Linked DNA regions of Homo sapiens: region 2 is linked to region 1. Evidence: promoter capture Hi-C in human tissues and cell types (Jung and others, 2019). All regions are on one chromosome and are shown on one strand. Each heading gives the region's core, a stretch centred on a gene start or on the middle of the fragment in contact. The rest is flanking DNA. Distances are from core to core; before and after follow the strand shown. Region 1 holds the start of SOX11 (SRY-box transcription factor 11). Region 2 overlaps LOC400940 (a long non-coding RNA gene).

Evidence for each region. The method cuts DNA at HindIII sites, captures the fragments that hold promoters and counts their contacts. A contact is called where the count stands out against the background at its distance.
Region 2: a fragment that was not itself captured here is called in contact with the fragment with the promoter of SOX11 in region 1 in 1 of the 25 tissues and cell types used here (pancreas).

The regions. Positions count from the first base shown.
Region 1 is chr2:5,686,565-5,693,671 of GRCh38, forward strand. SOX11 (SRY-box transcription factor 11) reads left to right here and starts at 5,820. Exons shown (of 1, transcript NM_003108.4): 1 at 5,820-7,107. The coding sequence starts at 6,158. LINC01248 (long intergenic non-protein coding RNA 1248) reads right to left here and starts at 4,554. Exons shown (of 5, transcript NR_110580.1): 1 at 4,411-4,554. It overlaps LOC124908052 (a long non-coding RNA gene), which reads right to left and starts at 4,399. Exons shown (of 2, transcript XR_007088653.1): 1 at 2,513-4,399; 2 at 1,064-1,191. The HindIII fragment of the contact is 8,038 bases long and covers 1,426-7,107 here.
Region 2 is chr2:5,985,003-5,992,109 of GRCh38, forward strand. LOC400940 (a long non-coding RNA gene) reads left to right here. Exons shown (of 3, transcript NR_026833.1): 3 at 423-3,230. Among named protein-coding and RNA genes, the nearest start is that of MIR7158, 14 kb to the left of the region's middle. The HindIII fragment of the contact is 6,165 bases long and covers 1,473-7,107 here.

The DNA of each region.
Region 1 (7,107 bases), core at 4,570-7,069:
CTGAGCATGACGCTGGCAAGTCCCATGGTCCCTGTTGCATGTTGGAATGAATAGTCTGTCTGCAGAGTGGAAACAGGGACATCAGTTTGGTGTCCATTACTAAAAAATGTGTAAAGCCCAGAGGAAAACTGAAACATACACACTGATGGTCAAAACATGCAGGAGGAAGTGAACTCAGGAGTGACTCGGGTAGGAGAATTGACTGAGCTTACTGGGGTATGTGAGCAAATATGAAAATCCCTTCATAACTTACACAATAGTTACGGTATGCCAGGAACCCTTTCAGGCACAGAAGAAGAAATATTAAAATAATAAAGACTACATTTGTAAACGTTCTACTGTGCGCAGCACTGTTCTAAGCACTTCATATGTATTTAATCATTATAGCAATTCTAACAAATCAAGCAGGACCTGGACTGTGTCTCTGCACACATGAGTGTGTGTGTGTGTGTGCGCGTGCACGCACATGATGGAATGGTTACTGGTATCCTATTTTATAGACTGGAAAACGAAGGCACAGGATAAGTTAAATAACTTGTGTAAAAGACACTATCAAGAAAATGAGAAAACAAGCCACAGACTAGGGGAAGTTATTTGCAAAAGACATGTCTGATAAAAGACTGTTACCCAAAATATACAAAGAAGTCTTAAAGCTTCACAATAAGCACATGAAAAACCTGATTTAAAAAAAATGGGCCAAAAACCTGAAGAGATATATCACTAAAGAAGATATACTGAGGGCAAGTAAATATTTGGAAAGACAGTCCATCTCATATGCCTAGGGAAATGTAAATTACAACAAAAATGAGATAGCACTTCAGACCGAGTAGAATGGCTACAATCTAAAATAGTGACAACAGCAAATTCTGACGAAGATGTAGAATAGTAGAAACTCTCATTCGTTGCTGTTGGGAATGCAAAATGGGACAGCCACTTTGGAAGACAGTTTGAAAGTTTCTTATGAAATTATACAACCTCTTACCACACGATAGAGCAGTATCACTCTTTGATATTTACCCAAGCAAGTTGAACACTTACATCTACACACAAAGCTGCACAAGGATGCTTGTAACAGATTTTATTCATCATTGCCAAAACATGGAAGCAGCCATGATGTCCTTCTGTAGGAGGATGGATAAACTGTGGTATACTCAGACAATGGAATGTTATGTATTGCCAAAAAGAAATGAGCTATGAAGTCATAAAAAGACATGGAAGAACATAAAATGCATATTGTTAAGTTAAGGAAGCCAATCTGAAAAAGCTACATACTGTATGATTCCATATATTTGACATTCTGGAAAAGGCAAAACTATTGCCATAGTAAAATAATCAGTTGTTGCCAAGGGCTTGGAGGGGTGAAGGATGAATAGGTGGGTGGAGGCCAGATGATTAGGGCCATGAAAATAATCTGCATGACACTATAATGATGGATACCTGCCATTATACATTTATCCAAATCCACAGAATGTACAACACCAAGAGTGAGCCTAATGTGGACTACGCATGTTGGATGATTATGATGTGTCATTGTGGATGCACTGATCGTAACACATGTACCACCGAGTGGGGGTGGTTGTGTATGTGTGGGGATAGACACTATGTGGAAGGCTCTGCATTTTCCATTCATGTTTGCTGTGAACCTCAAACTGCTCTAGAAAATAAAGTCTATTTAAAAAAATAGAATACATATCTCATATGAATAATTTCAAAAGACGTGAATTTTGGAGGCAGTACGTTTGTGGAATTATCTGGGCATTGATAACTAAAAGTCAAGCGCTCCATGATGAGAGCCACGCGGGAAAAAGAAAAGATAGTGGAACCAGAATTTTCAATCCAGGGCAGAACGCTTCTGAGCCGTAACTCTGAACACCTAAGCCAGTGTTTTTCAAACTTCAGTGGTGCCTCATTAATAGTGGGTTTTAACTAGCATTTACAGAAATGGAATGGAATGGAATAGAATAAAAAAGAGTATGAATTGCACATAAAAGAGAGATACTGATTTTTGACGCTTTGGTTTCTGCTTTATATGTGTATAGCATGAGTACTGGGTCATGATGTAAAAAGGTGTTTTATAAAATAGGTCATGATCAAAATAAATTTCCAAGCCGCTGCCCTGTGCTGTACTGCCCAACTGCTCTGGCTTTCATGGATCACACTCTGCAGTGGTCAATTCAGAGAATAAATGAGTGAAAAGCTTAACAACATTATTTTAGCTATTGAAACATGTTCTGATGAGCCAAACAGGGTAACAGCATCCACTGGTTCATTGTGTGTGTGTGTGTGTGTGTGTGTGTGTGTGTTTTCAAGGTAGGATTGTTCGATCTATACTCATTACCAGGTCTGAGGAACACTTAAGAAGGAATAAGAAGGAATGTCCAGTAGACAGAATATAACCAGATCCAAATTCAAGATTTAAGGCTGAAGCTGAGATAAATAGATACAGCTAACAATAAGGAGTGAACTCATTTCAGGAGAATAGGTAAAGGGAGAAAAAAGGAAAGGATCCTACCTTATAACTTCATTTCAGAGATGGGGAATGCATGTGGTTGCAATACTTCTAAAAATGGTGGTCAATCCATCAGATAAGTCAAATATTTACCCAGTGATATTTTTAGCATATTATTTGCTTAGAAAAATGCTTCTTTCCTAAGAAAAAGGGACACTTCTTACTCTGGCTGTGTTATAATTTTGAGAGATATCGTGAAATATCTCATCTCTTTATGTAATAGTCCTTTTACGTGACATTTTCTTTGTAAAGATGGAATTATGAAAAGGTAAAAATCACCATAAAAATAGTCATTTGTGCCTCTAATCAGATGTGACTCTTAAGATTCTGAACATTATGTATCCAACAATGTTTATGGTTAACAAACAAACTACATATCTTGCTTATAAATAAGTATATAGACAGACACACACAAAAATGAGTGAATATTGGCTCTAAAAAGATAACCAATGATCCTAATTATGATATACATTCAGTGGCTTAAAAAACAGTAGACCTATTTCCATTTTACTAAATTAGGTTTTCAAGAGGTGCATTATTAAAGGCTATATTTTCTATTTGGTAGCCTAAAATTTCTCTAAATAGTTGGTTACTGTTAATGGCGCAAACATCTGTTTTCAGAAGTAACTATTATTCCTGTAAGAAGCATGCGTACTCTCAAACATGTTCCCATATTTTTTTTTAAATGCTATACTTATTTAAAAATTTTCCCTTAGGGAGCAAAAATAAAGTATACAGATTATCATTTTTTTCATTCCTCACTCGACTACGTCTAACAACATTAAGTATGTGGGGTGAGTCCATGCTACAAAATAGCAATCTAGTTAATCTCTTGTGAAAATTGCCTGGCCTCTCCTACATGACAGGGGGGATTCAGCTGTAGCACCCGCCTGTGCCGCCTTCAGTGCCTGCTTTAGCAATCCCAATCTTTGCTTTATCTTCTCCAACAAACGGCTCATGTTGCCTTGAACAGAAATTATATTTCTTGTTCGAAAGAGCAGATTTTAACTTTTATTTCCTCTAAAAAGATCGCAGCGCTATGAGAATAAAATCTATTATTTTTCACTCCTACTATATTCAGATCATTCTCATTTTAAAGCTAAGCATGATTTTTGCTATAGCGTAAAGATAGCAAATCAATATGGAATTTGCCAAAGATTTTCAAATGCATTCTCTTTCCGAGGCCCAAATGGTAGGTGCCCTCACACTTTGCAAGCAAATAATGAAGCTGAGCTGAAATATTTCAATCCTTTTCTCTAGAGTGTGGATTTGTCCTGCAGTTGTGGGGAGGTGGGTGTAGGTTCACCTTGTGCTCCACCCCACCCTCCCTCCGGTGGTGTTCCCAATAGCTGAAAAACGTGTGAGCTGTAAGAGAAAAACAAGACCTAGTGCTCGCCGTGCGGGAGTGAAGATGAGTTTTCACACACTGCCTTGGATTTTATACATCTCCAGACTTTAAGTCACCCAGTATGAATGACTGTAAATTCTTTTGGTTCCTATGGCCCTGGAAAGAATAAATTGCCAGCATTATCAAGATTTAAGTTGGTCTGAATATTCCAAGTATTCGATGCAGTGTTTTTCTTTAGGATGAGTCGGGGAAGTGGGGGACGGGGGCGGGAATGGCTTATCGCAATGGCGGTAATTTTTTCAAATCATGATCTGTGTAAAACACGGTATTATTTTATGATATTAGAATCCTCAGAGAAGATCCAATACTTAAGAAATGTAGTATTAATTGCAGGAGGGCACCTGAAAGGAAGCAGATTCGGATAATTTTCCCAGTCCTACACGGCTGATTTCTCTGGTGAAGGGATCCGGGCAGTGTCTTAGGAACTGCTCAAAGTTCCCAGATACCCAGTGCTGGGGGGTGTGGAGAAGGCGAGGGTGGCGACAGACCATACCTATGAAGCGGTGATTTTCTTTAATTGCCCCCAGAATATCCGTAGAGGTAGTAGGGACTCAATAAAGAAACACAAAGGAGACGAACACGGCACGATCGCCGGGGTCCGCGGCTGCTCTGCGAGGCCCAGCGCGCCCCAGGTCGCGGCTCCCCGGCCGCCAGCGCACCTTTCCATCTCCAGGGAAAATATTTAGACGGGAAACTCGAGTGCACCTTATTTTCTCTTTGGTTTATGAGTGACCCAGAAGGCTTCTAGCTCACAATCGCACGATTTCAGGACGAGGCTGCCGGAGAAGCGCTGGCGACCGAGGATGGGGGAAGGACAAAGAGGAAGAGGAGGCCTGGGAAGGAGAAAGGAGCGGCGGAGGGGCGGGGAGAGGACGGGGCGGGGAGAGGAGGGGCGGGGAGCAGAGGGAGAAGGGAAGGAGGGCGCCGGGCCCCTCGCAGGGACGCCGGGCGGGGCGCGGGCTTGCTGGAGCCTGCGGGACCCAGAGCCCGCTCCGGAGCCAGCCCTGGGAGTGGCCAGCTTGAACCCGAGGGCCCCGCAGACCGTTACTCCGGCCCCCGCCCGGGGCGGGGCGCGCGGGGGCGCGGCGCAGCCCAACCCGCACAGCCGCGTCCCCAAACACCACCGAGGAGGGAAAACAGACGGAGAAAAAGGACAAAACAGAAAAATGCAAAACGGGGGAGGGAGCTCACCGCCTCTCGAGCTTTAAATTGATTTCTTTGCCTTACAAAAAGGGAGAAAGGGAAAAGGAGAGCAGAGCCCACGTGCCGGGAAGGTTGCTGTCTTCAAGCGCCACCTTCCGTCGGCCAGGGCCGCCGCGGGGCTACCGGGCGGGCTCGGGGCGGCGACCCGGGGGAGCGGCCGAGCCCCGCGAGGGGCTCGCCGGGGAGCAGCTGCGCCCACCCCGGGGCAGGCCGGGCGCGGCTGACCGCGAGCCGGGCGGAGGCCGCCGTCTCAGGCTGGGCGCGTGCCCGAGTGTGTGCACCCGGGGAGTGAGCGCGCGCCGTCCGCTGTCGCCGTCGGGCCTCCCGGGGACTGGGCACAAAGGCGCGCGGGGCCTCTCCCGGGACCCGGTCCTCGGTTAGCGCCGGCGCCCGAACCATCCCGGTTCGCCCCGGGCCGCCCGCTCCCCGTGGTGCCGCGCGCCGCTTCCGAGCATCCCGGGAACAGGCGCATCTGTGCACACACGCGGATTTTTTAAAAATAACATATTTCTAGACATGCCTCCTCTCCCCCCACCCCCATCTTTGCAAAGCAGCCCGGAGGGCGGGGTGGAGGGGCGGGGCCTCCGAGTTAATAAAGGAAGATGGGCGGAGCCGGCCCCCAGCCATTGGCTAGCTGGGGGAGTGATGTCACCCATATGACACCCTGATAACTAGTTGAGAGAGAGACCTCAACTTTTTGCAGAAGGAGCGCGCGCGCCTGGGAGAGCTCGGGGTCCGGCGCTTGCGGTAGGAGCCACGAGCCGGAGAGAGGGGTCCCGGGCTGCCTCGACCGCCGTCGCCACCGCCTCTCCTGTCGCGACCGCAGCTCCCACCGCGCCGGCGGCCGTCGTCGCCGAAGCCACCACAGCCGCTGTGTGCAGCCTGGAAGGGGGGGCGGGGGGGAGGGGGGGAGCCGCGAAAGCGGGGTGCCGAGGACTTTGCAACTTGCCCAGGAAGGTGGAGGGGTGGGAGGGGGAGGGGGACCTCCGCACGAGACCCAGCGGCCCGGGTTGGAGCGTCCAGCCCTGCAGCGGATCATGGTGCAGCAGGCGGAGAGCTTGGAAGCGGAGAGCAACCTGCCCCGGGAGGCGCTGGACACGGAGGAGGGCGAATTCATGGCTTGCAGCCCGGTGGCCCTGGACGAGAGCGACCCAGACTGGTGCAAGACGGCGTCGGGCCACATCAAGCGGCCGATGAACGCGTTCATGGTATGGTCCAAGATCGAACGCAGGAAGATCATGGAGCAGTCTCCGGACATGCACAACGCCGAGATCTCCAAGAGGCTGGGCAAGCGCTGGAAAATGCTGAAGGACAGCGAGAAGATCCCGTTCATCCGGGAGGCGGAGCGGCTGCGGCTCAAGCACATGGCCGACTACCCCGACTACAAGTACCGGCCCCGGAAAAAGCCCAAAATGGACCCCTCGGCCAAGCCCAGCGCCAGCCAGAGCCCAGAGAAGAGCGCGGCCGGCGGCGGCGGCGGGAGCGCGGGCGGAGGCGCGGGCGGTGCCAAGACCTCCAAGGGCTCCAGCAAGAAATGCGGCAAGCTCAAGGCCCCCGCGGCCGCGGGCGCCAAGGCGGGCGCGGGCAAGGCGGCCCAGTCCGGGGACTACGGGGGCGCGGGCGACGACTACGTGCTGGGCAGCCTGCGCGTGAGCGGCTCGGGCGGCGGCGGCGCGGGCAAGACGGTCAAGTGCGTGTTTCTGGATGAGGACGACGACGACGACGACGACGACGACGAGCTGCAGCTGCAGATCAAACAGGAGCCGGACGAGGAGGACGAGGAACCACCGCACCAGCAGCTCCTGCAGCCGCCGGGGCAGCAGCCGTCGCAGCTGCTGAGACGCTACAACGTCGCCAAAGTGCCCGCCAGCCCTACGCTGAGCAGCTCGGCGGAGTCCCCCGAGGGAGCGAGCCTCTACGACGAGGTGCGGGCCGGCGCGACCTCGGGCGCCGGGGGCGGCAGCCGCCTCTACTACAGCTTCAAGAA
Region 2 (7,107 bases), core at 3,305-5,804, 300 kb after region 1:
CCAACGCCCTCCAGAAACACTGCTCACTGGATGCAGGGGCGCTTCTCCTGTTTCTAGTTCACTTGGTCTAGAGGCCAGCCAGGTAGGAGTCATCCTGTTCTTGGAGGCAATGTGGCCCAGACCCAGGCTCTAGCAGCAGGTCTGACTGCAGCACTTTCTCCCTCGGGGTGGCTCCCAGTCCCAGTGTGGTGGGCCCACCCTTCCTTACCACCAGGCGCCTCTCCTGGAAGCTGCGAAAACCTTCCCCCCTTTCAGGCACTGGGAATCAGCATTCTTTGGCGTATGCCTGGATTTGCCCCAGAATTATCCTGCAAAGTCTCTCCCCTCCTGACCTCAAATGTTCCTGTCCCTACAACCAGACGGTAGACCCCAGGGCCTCCGGGGCTCCTTCCAGTGCCTCCTTGTCATCTTTTGAATCACAGCTCATGAGGCAACCCACACAGGCAGGCTGGAGAGGAGTGGCAAGAAGCTCACCTTCGGACAGTAGTGAGCAGAGCAACAGAGGCCCCCAGAGACTTCGCACAACGGAAAAGAGATCAACTCCCGCATTTGCAGGGGACGTGAAAGTGCAATACTGTGAGGAACAAAAGGAAGCCTCATCTCTGGAAGCCGGGAGGAAAAACAGTCGGTGTAGACAGCAGCGGCAGGGACCAGAGCTGACCAGAAGGCTGGGTCCCAGCAACAATTAGAGACAGGCAGCAGCTGAGGCCCCTTCTCTGAGAACCATTTCAATTGCACAGTGGCCACAGAAGGCTCCATTGGCCCGGCAGCCAGCTCTGCAGAGCCATTTGTCCACAAGGAAAATAATAGCCCCGGCCTCATTGCTTTGGGCTGCAGGGAGGACAATGACCCACCATGAAAAGAGTTAAAAAGATTCTGGGGAAGGGGAAAGGCAGGCCCACACGGTGGCAATTCAAGATCTTTTGGATGCCGTGAGCGTGTTCTTTAATTAAGCCCCTCTTCTTCAGCTCATCCTGCAGAAACGCACCTGCTTCCCATCTGCCATCCAAAACGGCAAGCACAAGAATGACTTCACACTGTCACTTTCAGAGTTCCGCTGTGGCCCACAGTGATTTTTCAAGAAAGGCAGCCACAGACTCGCTCGCGCTTTCTCTTTCTCCTTTCCTCTGAAAGACTCTATAAAAACCACATTAAAAAGTGTGTGAGCCAAGCAATTTCATTTATCAAAGGAAGAAGGTCATCCATAGCATTCATTCTAAGAATATCAGGCACACGGCCAGCCCTGGACACAAGGCATGAAGACCAGAGGGCCCTTTATTGACCTAATCTCTATTTTGTCGCCAAACTGCATCTGTGTCTGAAAGCTGGGACACACAATATTTCCCTCTACCAAAATAATTTTATTTTCTGCAGCAGCATGTAACAAACAATTAATGGTGGTAACATGGGCTTCTGTCATTTTCTGAACAACCCAGTTCTGTTTGGTGTTACTGCAGTGGTTGTTATTTTGGGTGGTTCTGTGCTTATTCCATTCTGCCAATTGGTCCCATTCGCATGGGCGTGAGCCCGTGCCGTCATCTACCACCTTGGAATCCATGTTATTGCCAGAACTGTGTGGGGCCTTGCTTGAGGGCCTGTCCCCTGTCCTCTTCACAGATGTTTCTGTGCCTTCAGGGAGAGGACTGATTGTGCTGTCTCCCTCTCCCACCCGTGTCTGCTGTCTCCAAAACTAAGGGAGGCTGCGGTGAAACCAGCCTGGCCCAGGTTCCTCTGGTGCCTGCCGTGGCTCAAATTATCCAAACTACAGTGGCTGATTCCCAGCGACCCATCCCTTAGTGCCCTTGTGCCCCGTTGAAGAAGTGGCCCATGTTATGAATAGGGAAGCTAAGGTCATTAAGAATTTGTGCAGGCGTACAAAGAAAGTGCAAGTCAGAGATCCTTGTCTCAGCTACTTTGCTTGAAAAATGACTCCATGCTCTGAGATGCTATAAATGGAGCAAACAGTGTGAAGTGGTTCTCCCCCTCCAAGAAACTGCCCCCTGATGCGTTCCCCCATTAGACACCTGCTCCTCCAAGCCTGGTCTTCTCTCTGCAACCACTTCCCCTATGCCTCTCCCCACCCACCATGCATGACTCCTTGTCACACACATGATCTCTGGTCCTACCTTGCACTTGGTGCTGGGGGCTGTGATTCCCTCTGCCTCTGTCTCCCCACATCGTCCCTGACATCACCTTTCACCGTGCACTGGTCTCGCTTCCTCGGGAACTCTATGAATGGCCTTGTTCTCTGATTATTTGATTATTCCATTATCAACCCAAAGCTCACTGGGTCTATGGGGCTGAGAGGTCGTTTTTATTACATCATTTTAATTATTCAGATAAAAGACTCGCAGGCACAGATTTATCACCACTGCCTAAAGAAAAGCAGAGACACACATAATTCCATTTTGAAAATCCATTCTTAAAAGCAAAAATATGATTCAGTTGAAGGTATTCAGAAAAAAAAATGCTCATTGAAAAACCCTGATGATTTTTAGCATTTCAAATAAATTGTGTACAGTTACGGTCATTTGTTAACTATTTTGGAGACTGCGAGCTGATCATTATCTCTCTTTTTCAGATAACAAAATGTATCTACCTTCTCCCAGAGTGTAAACTAATCTGGTGGCTGGAAAAAGCAAACAAACAAACAAAGATCTGTTAAGAAAGATCTGATTTTTCAAATGGCGCATACCATTCCTTGAAACAGAGGTGATGAATAGGTAGAGACAAAAGCATCAAACATCCAGGCAGGACCTGTTTATCTCTGGGCAGAAATCTGTTCAATTCCATGATAAAACAAGGTTTGAAGTCAGGGATTCAATTTCACAAACTAAACAGACGTGTGCACACACATGTGCACACTGTGCATGTCCCAGTGCACACACGCAGAACCCATTTCGTAGGGACACACATGTGCACACTGCATGCCCCAGTGCACACACGCACAACCCATTTCGTAGGGACACACATGTGCACACTGCATGCCCCAGTGCACACACACACAACCCATTTCATAGGGACACACGTGCACACTGCATGCCCCAGTGCACACACGCACAACCCATTTCGTAGGGACACACATGTGCACACTGCATGCCCCAGTGCACACACGCACAACCCATTTCGTAGGGACACACATGTGCACACTGCATGCCCCAATGCACAGACACACAACCCATTTTGTAGGGTCCTAGCAGAATTTTCTCTGTAGGAAAAGCACTCAATCTTGCTGATTTGTGGCTGTTTCTCCGGTTTGCATCAGGTTGGGCCTCATGACACAGGACTGGCCTAAGCATTAGGTCAGAGCTGGAATATGCCAAGTCTTCCCCATCCCTTCTCCATTCCCAGGGCTGAGTAGTGGTTAGAAGGGCGAGCACAACACACCCAGACACTTATCCCCTCTATGTCTTCTGCCTTTCCTCTTTCCCCTGTAGGTGTTTCTTCTTAGAGTAGCTTTTTAATCATGCTCACTGGTTGTCTGCTTCTTAAGACTGGCCATGTTTCACAATTCTTCCAATTGCATTACTTCCCCTAAGGCTCTCCCTTTTCCTGGATATCTCATTGACACCTGTATTAGAGTTTTCCAGAGAAACAGGACCAATAGCATATATAGGAATATGCAGAAAGATATTTATGATGAGAGATTGGCTCAAGTAATGGTGGAGACAGAGAAGTCCCACCGTCTGCCACCTGAGAGCTAGAGGCCCAGCAAAGCTGGTGGTGGTGTTCCAGTCCAGGCCCAAAGGCCTGAGAACCAGGATCACTGACATGCAAGGACAGATGAAGATGGATGTCTCAGGTCAAGCAGAGAGGAAATTCACCCATCCTCTACCTTTTTGTTCTATTCAAGCACTTAACAGATTGCATGGTGCCCATCCACATTGGTGAGGGTGATCTTCTTTGCTCAGCTTACTGAATCAAATGCCAAACTCTTCCAGAAGGACCTTCACAGGTATGCTCAGTAGGAAAGTTTTACCAGGTATCTGGGCATCCCTAAGACCAGTCACATCAACTAAACCATCACAACACCTAAGACTTGAATTTCCAATTGTCTTCTGGTGTTTGTAAAACACTGTTAGGGAGCTCATCCCTCTCTGTTGAATCCTGGACAGTTTCAAAGCCTGCTGGTCAGCTCTGTCCCATTCTGCAGGCATCACGACCTCCAACCATCCAAATAAAGTAAGTGTCCTTGCTTGCTCTACTTCTGATCTGTCCTTCACATCCTGCGTCTTCTCCAAATTACCTATGTGTAATCTATGGCATTCTCACAATTAGCCCAAACTGGCGATCCAGTCCCTACACACACACACACAAACACAGACCCTAAATTCCCTTAATCTGTTTACTGAATCTGCTTCTTCTTCTGCTGAAACATTTCTGGAATCCCCCTTTCCTCTCATGCACCGCCATTGCCCAAGTTTAGGTATTCATCAATTCTTGCCAATGTGATTTCTAATGCACCTAATGGGTTTCTTATATCCAGGTACCCCCTTACTCTCCAGTCTGTCTTCCACTCTGCCCCTAGACTTGTTTTTCATATATAAAGCTCTTATTTTCCAGCACATATAAAATAAGCTTCTTAGCAGGGCACTCGAGGCTTTGCAAATGTGCTGTCAACCACTCCATGCACCTGTGCAGATTCCTAGTCGCTATTCCCCTCTCTTCAACACTCATGGCCCATCCCCAAGAGGCTGCCTTCAGGCCTTTTCATCTTTGCACATGTCCCTCCACTAGGAATGCCTTTCCTCTCCCAGGCTTGGCAAAGTACATTTTCAAGGCCTCTTGTAGTGCTGTGCGCTGTATGCTGCAGGTGATATGCCCCATGCTTCAGGCAGTTTGGTCTTGTAAGTGCAAGTAAGGGGCTTATCACAAGCCCTCTCACTTGCCTTGAACTCGGGATGTCTGACCCTTTCTCATGTGTAGCTTGGTGCAGGCTCAGAGTAGAATGAGGTAGGTGGGCAGTGCTGAACATGGAGATGGTTCTGGGGAGCTTCTGTGTGACTAATATCGCAAGGCCTCAGATAAAGCCCCCTGCAACCTCTCCTTTCCCTAACTGGTCTGAGCCAGGGGAAATGGCATCCTTGCCGTCATCACTACCATGCTGTGTTCCTATTTGCTCCAAGGACACAATCAGCATCATTACCCCATTCTCCTCAAAGCACATTCCATTCATTTTCTTCTTCAAGGCAGTGTTTTTTATCCCCATTCCACAAATGAGGAGATGAAGATTCAGACAGAGCAAGAAATTTTTCAAGGTAGCGATTCACCCTCTGATTCTCTGGACTAGAGTCATCCTGTGGAAGCTCTGCCTCCCTCCTCTGGTCTCTCTCTTTCCCGCATCCACTTTCCTCAAACACGTGTCACCTCTGTTTCATTCTCTGGCCACCTACCCCCACCATCCTTTCTTGGCTCAGATCTGAAGTACTCCAGACTACCAGATTACGTAAAAATTCAAAGGCATGAGAAAATGGCAAGCATGGAAACAAATTCTTGGTAGAGATGAGTGGCAACCTCAAAAAGAAGCCTCCTCTCCCCATAAATTCCTCAGTGCCCCATCAATCTCCATCAATCCATACAAGACCAGCCTCACTCTGACCACCCGGGTCTTCCACATACTATTGTTTTCTGCAACTTGAACAAAATAATGGATTGTAGTTGATATTCTCCAGGGGATTTGACTACCCTCACATAAAATCTCTAGTTAAAAAGAGCTGATTTAAGTCATACATACAAAAACAGCATGATAGCATGCAATGTTTATCAAACCTGAGTGGAAAAGGATTGCCTGGAAGGCTTTTTGAAAATTGTATCCATTCTCATCTCTACTGATGGTGCCTGAGTAGGTCTGGGCAGAATTCTTGGAGTGTCAGGGGATTCCTGAAGGAGGTCAACAGGAATCTCACTGGCGAAAGAAGAACTGACTTTGGATTTAGACAGACCTTGGTTCAGACCTTACCTTTGCCATATGCAAACATTAGAATTTTGAAAGAATTGCTCATTTTAATTTGACTTTTCATTTCATTTTGAAAATAAAAACTTCCCTTTTCATTTTATTTTGACTTTCAGTTTTTTCTCTTAGAAAACAAATCAAAATGAAACCTACCTCAAGGCATTGTTGCCAGACCCAAATAAAATCAATTACATTTCATGAAATAAAATAATCATCCTATGTTGGTTTTCAAATAAATGGAAAGTTGCTTTTTTCACGTCAGAGTGAATATTTTATAAAAGTATAATTACACATAAAGGAAAATATAATACATTGAGAAAGTGGTTGTTTTATTTAGTTTGAGAATTACATGCTATTAATGTATTTGTATCATTAGAAATTTTGCAGAGATCCCTACAGAAAATAATTATAACAATTTCCTTTTATTTCAACTTCGACAATGTGGTAGCAGGTATCCTGAAGGTGCTGCCTCTGACACCTCCTGGAAATTCTGTGTGCATGACTAGAAGCATTATTTGAATGCTTGGCTGAGTTCCGGAGAGGGACTCTGAGCAGCCAGAGGGAAGAACAAAGTGTCGGGAGATACTGGGAGGACACAGGAATGCAGGGGACAGGAATGCTTTTCCAATTTGTGCATTGGGGAATTGGGGGCAATCACCACAGGAGACAAAAGTTGGGTGCTTGAATCCTTGGGTCAGAAATCAAAACTTACTCCCACCTTCTGCTCCACCTACCCAACTAAGCCTGGCCCTGGCTGGGCTACACCCTCACTGAAAAGTATGCAAGAAAAAAACCTGCCTACTAGCTCAGAGGGCTGGAATGAATCCCAGGCTGTGTCTACGTGGGTGTCAGCGGGGATTGAGTAAAATACAGGCGGCGGGAACTTCCCTGAACATTTGTTACCATGGACCTAACTCATAAAGGATTAGGGCTGGAACTGAGATTATCAAGGTTGTGAACCTCTGGCGCACCTGCTGGAAACACATGCAAACCACTCCTGAAAAATGAACTCCCTGGCATCCCCACACCCCAAATTCATGTGGAACAAGTATGCTTAAAATGCTTAAAGACGTTTTAAAAAGGAAACGTAGTTGTCAGAAAAGACAAAGGATGCTTCAAAATACAAGATAGATTTTAGAAAAAAATCAAATGGA